Linked DNA regions of Homo sapiens: region 2 is linked to region 1. Evidence: promoter capture Hi-C in human tissues and cell types (Jung and others, 2019). All regions are on one chromosome and are shown on one strand. Each heading gives the region's core, a stretch centred on a gene start or on the middle of the fragment in contact. The rest is flanking DNA. Distances are from core to core; before and after follow the strand shown.

The links. Contacts are between HindIII fragments. The study calls those that stand out against the background at their distance.
Region 2: a fragment that was not itself captured here is called in contact with the fragment with the promoter of CXXC4 in region 1 in 1 of the 25 tissues and cell types used here (neural progenitor cells).

What each region holds. Positions count from the first base shown.
Region 1 is chr4:104,493,621-104,496,154 of GRCh38, forward strand. It overlaps CXXC4 (CXXC finger protein 4), which reads right to left and starts at 1,274. Exons shown (of 3, transcript NM_025212.4): 1 at 1,081-1,274. All of the region lies in intron 1 of CXXC4-AS1 (CXXC4 antisense RNA 1), which reads left to right. The HindIII fragment of the contact is 3,942 bases long and covers 191-2,534 here.
Region 2 is chr4:104,542,935-104,545,468 of GRCh38, forward strand. The region is part of intron 1 of CXXC4-AS1 (CXXC4 antisense RNA 1); the gene reads left to right. All of the region lies in intron 1 of LOC124900745 (a long non-coding RNA gene), which reads right to left. Among named protein-coding and RNA genes, the nearest start is that of CXXC4, 49 kb to the left of the region's middle. The HindIII fragment of the contact is 7,596 bases long and covers 1-2,534 here.

The DNA of each region.
Region 1 (2,534 bases), core at 24-2,523:
CATCTTTCAATCACAGCAAGTCCCTAATCACTCAGGAACCACCTCTGTGGTTTCGCATTAGGGAAAACTGCTGCCTTCTCAGGTCTGAGGGCAATACAAAAGGTGCCCCCAAAATGCTCTTGGCTAAATATTCTTGATGCTTGGAAGGGGTGAGGGAAGACACAGCAAGAATATGCATATAGCTTCAGTTTCTGCGAATCACATTGTAACTGCAAGACCATAATAACTGCTACTCAGTAAAAACTAGTTATGTCAACCATGCATTAGATATCATCACATTGAGTGGAGGGAAAATTTTCAACCTTTTAGTCTTTTGACCTTGTTCCAAATAAATAAATAATTTAACGTCCCTTTTTTAGAGTCTTAGAGTGGTGTTTCCAAACACAAGCTTTCCTTGCTTTTCTGATTGCCATCACCATCCCTCTTCCTACCTCAAGGTTTAATACCACCAGAAACTGTAGAAAATGATTATGCCCAGTATCCAGGTCATTATTGTTTAATCAATGCATCTCTGGAGCATGAAAAAGGTATCTAAGCCACAGCTATTGTTTGGATTTTATTTAAAAACAAAATAAAACACACACAAATAACTATAGTTCTATGCCAAAGCTAAATTAGAGATCCATACTTCATGATCCTGTTTTGCCTTTAAACAATGTGACTTTACATGCCTAATACTGTATGTCTGGTCTACCAGAGACATAGAGATCAAAGGTCATATTTAACATTCAGGAGGAGGGGCGGGTGCAGACTAATTAATAAATTAATACAGCGACGCTTTTTCTTGCTGGAGTCCAGCATTAATAATCTACTTTCACAATCCCAACGGACAGCAAACATTTAAGAGAAAAAAAAGCCAGAGAAAGAGAAAGAACAATCACTTACCAGTCTCTTTTTATTTGGGGAGCCTTAGAATTTGCAGACGCTGCCAGTCTGCCTTTAATTAGTTGCACATCACCCCCTAACACAAAGAAACACAAATCCAGATGTGTCTTGGCAGCTCCCAATTACAACTTTAATACTTGTAAACAAACTGTTGGGGGGGGGGGGGTAAATAAATATGCGGATCAAAAAAAATACCTGTAAATGGCTTTTTTTTCTTGTTGCAGAGAGAAGGAGGAGGAGATGGTGTTAGTGGTGGGGGTGGAAGGAGGAGGAGGTGGGGGGAGAGGAAAGAGTCGAGTGTGAGTGTATGTGTGAGAGCGCGGGTCTGTTGTCGGTGGTCTCTCCTCTCCCAGCGCGTTGCTCTCCGTCCGTCTCCAGTCGCTGTGTGCGAGGGAGGGAGGGAGCCGGGGAGTCTCTCCTCTCTCTCTCCCCTCTCTCTCTCTCTCTCTCTTCCCCTCTCTCTCACCCTCCCCCCTTCTCTCTCTGTTTGTGTGTGTGCGAGTGTGCGGTTGCTGGGGGAGGGGAGCCACAGAGAAAGGCGAGGGAGGAGGTGTGGAGGCTGGGGGCGGGGGCGCGGGGGTGGGGGTGATTGGCGCCGAGGTGAGGAGGACGCAGGGACGTGGACACCTACTGATGATTGGCTGCAAATTACACGGGGAACAAGAGGCGCACGCGGGCCAGCGCTCCTTTTCACAAATCCTCTCCTCGGCAGAGGAGCCACGTTTTCCCTGCTCGCCTGCGGATCGCCCTCCCTCCTCGCGCCCGGCTCTCCGGCTCAGCCCAGCACACAGGGCTGTTGATTATTTTCTTTTGCTCTCGGAGATAATTGTTTGGAAGGGTTGGAAAGAGGGCGTTTCCGCCACTCTGCGTGTGGGGTGTGTGTGTGCGTGCGTGTGCGGGTGTGTGTGTAAATAAACTTGTCTGGGATTTCTGGCTGGGTTGAGAAGAGCAATACAAGAAACAGAGAAAAGGTCATGTTTGTTTGAAGAATGCTCTTAGTTCGTACCCAATGGCATGGTTTTAAATAAATTTCCTGGTGTACCCAGGAAGACTTTAAAAAAAAATACCATTTAGATCTTTAAAGTAAGGGAAAACGGACCGGTGTGGTTCTTCAGACCCTCGAAGTACTATTATGCCAGAATGTAAAAAATCGGTGATATGATGCTTGGCCAATTTCAAAATCCATCTCAATCTCTGTCTCTCTTCTCTACTCTTCTCTCTCTCCTCCCAAAATCCTCTTTTACTATTCCATCTGGTAGTTCCAAAGAATAAATCAGATTTTTAACTCACTGCCCTATTTTTTAATTTCAAACTTTACTTAAACAAAAACTTTTGTCTTTCAGTCTATTTTAGAATAGTATGTAATTAACATTTCACTTCTTGCCACTTGGGAAAACATAGTTTATGAATTGAAACATAAATATTGTACGGCACGTCAAATATAAATAAAACTCGTTCATAAATGCAGCTGTAAATTAACCTCTTCACTGCTGCCTCAAATAAAATATTTGTGGACACATGCTATCCTACTATTAAAGTATACTCTAGTGGAAATAGTTATAAGATACAGAATTATGAATACTTTTGAATAATTTTTTTTCTAAGAGCAAAACAGTGGCTAAGGTAAGTTATAGAGTAGGAAAGAAAAA
Region 2 (2,534 bases), core at 23-2,522, 49 kb after region 1:
CCTTACAAGAGCTCCTGAAGTAAGCACTAAATATGGAAAGGAAAAACCGGTACTAGCCACTGCCAAAACATACCGAATTGTAAAGACCATTGACACTATGAAGAAACTGCACCAACTAATGGGCAAAATAACCAGCTAGCATCATAAGGACAGGATCCAATTCACACATAATTATATTAATCTTAAATGTAAATGGGCTAAATACCCTATTAAAAAGACACAGACTGGCAAATTGGATAAGGAGTCAAGACCCATCGGTGTGCTGTATTCTGGAGACCCATCTCACTTGCAAAGACACACATAGGCTCAAAATAAAGGGATGGAGGAATATTTACCAAGAAAATGGAAAGCAAAAAAAAGCAGGGGTTGCAATCCTAGTCTCTGATAAAACAGACTTTAAACCAACTAAGATAAAAAAAGACCAAGAAGGGCATTACATAATGGTAAAGGGATCAACGCAACATGAAGAGCTAACTATCCTAAACATATATGCACTCAATTGTTCTCTTTAAAGATTACTGCTGAAATTATACCTCTTCAACCTCCAGCCAAAGAAAGGATTCAAAATTCCATTTGTTGTTAAATAGATATTTATTTATATAAATTTACATATTTTTATAAATAATATTTCAATATCTGGTTAATGTGGTTCCAGTTTTTTAAAATCACTTGACACTTTGAAATGTCTGACACTGTATATCACTAAGGTATATAATTTACAGTCTGTTATAATGATGTTCTTTTAACTGTTGGATCTTTGATAAGAAATATTTCTTCTTTGTCATATACATTGCAATGTATAGTTTCTTTTTAGAATTAGGAATTTGATCAATTGTTTGTTCACTTCAGTAAAAATATGACTTTCACAGTAGAATGTCAACCCACCTCCACTTACTCAACCCACTGGTAATCAAGATTCCATTCCTCTAAAACACATTAAATAATGCTGTCACCCAGTATTGTCAGCTGGCTAGTCACCCTTCTGTAGTCTTCAGTCTATAGCCTGTGCTCACTGGTTAAATTATAGGTTTACCAAGAAGCAGTTGGATTTGCCCTCAAAGTTGTTTCATTCACTTCACTTGTTGTCATTTTAAATTTAAATAAATATTCTATAAATTATTAAGTATGCATGAAAGAAAAAAGAAAACAAATTTGTTTCTAGGAAAATTAAACTGAATGCTCGGAAATGTCTTGATAAAGTTAAATCATAAATCGAAGTTGAATTAGGTGCAGAAAAAAATCTAAAAATTTAAGAAATGTTTTTTTCTTCTAAGGGCTTTAAATTTTAACTCCACTTTTACAGAATTCACTATTGAAAATTGTAACTGATGTATTGTGATTGTAATTTATTCAAAAAGGAGAGCAAGTAACTAAGTAAAAGGCCTTGCCTATGAGAATTTGATGAAGAAATGTGCCTTTATATTCTTTCAGTTAAAATAACCTTTAAAAATATGTTATATTTTATGATTCCCTTTAAATCTATATTTTAGATTAACAGATTAACAAAAGTTTGTAATCTTGGATAGAATGGCACTACCGTATAATTAAATGCTGATTCATCTGACTCCAAATCCTTTGCTTTTTACCACTATAGTAACATTCAATTCTTGCCTAATTTTTCATACCTTAAAACAAACAAACAAAGGACAACAACAACAAAAACCTTTTTTTTTATATTACCTTCTAGACAAACCCTAATTTTTCTTCTTTTCAAAGTTAAGTTCCTCAAAATAATCTACTATGATTTCTTCCTCCATTCACTCTATAAGTTGCAGCAGCCAAAGTTCTGACAAATAAGTAACTCTGGCCAAGGCCTGGAACTGCTGTTGAAAAGTCCACCCATGAGCCTTTCAATTAGACTTTTCTAATGGGTTCTATTCATCCCCATCTTGTTCGATTTCAGTAGTATTTTAGATGGTTGGCTGTTTTCTTCCTCTTCAAAATGTCTCCTTTCTTGGTAATTCCTTCTACAGCACTGCGTTTTTTTGTTTTTTTTTGTTTTCCTCAGTCTCTTGCAGGACTTCTCTTCGTATTTACTTATTTGTCTCAGGATTTGTCAATGGCTCTTTTATGTCCCTTTCTTTCATTCATTTTTCTGATTATAAAAGTAAAATATGGCCATTATAGAATATTAGAAATTAAATATTATCTTGAAATCAACACAAAACTTAAAATTATGTATAATCATGCCACCTATCAATTACTACTGTCACATACTGATTATTTTCTCTGCCTTTTTATGCCTAACAGTGCTTAACAGAAAGGAAATGATACTCATATTTAGTTTTGTTTTCTACTTTTTTCACTAAATATTATTTTATAAAATTTCCAACATTATTAAATATTTCTTGAAAATGTGATTTTTATAGCTGAATAACATTTTATAAATTTGTGATGGTTTAAGCATTCTGCCTTCCTTACTGACATTTAACTTGCTTCCATATGTATTTATTTTTAACTCAAAATAAAAATTTTACTTTTTTAACAGTAGAGTTTAATTCACATTTATTGTCATAACCAATGTAACTTCCTTC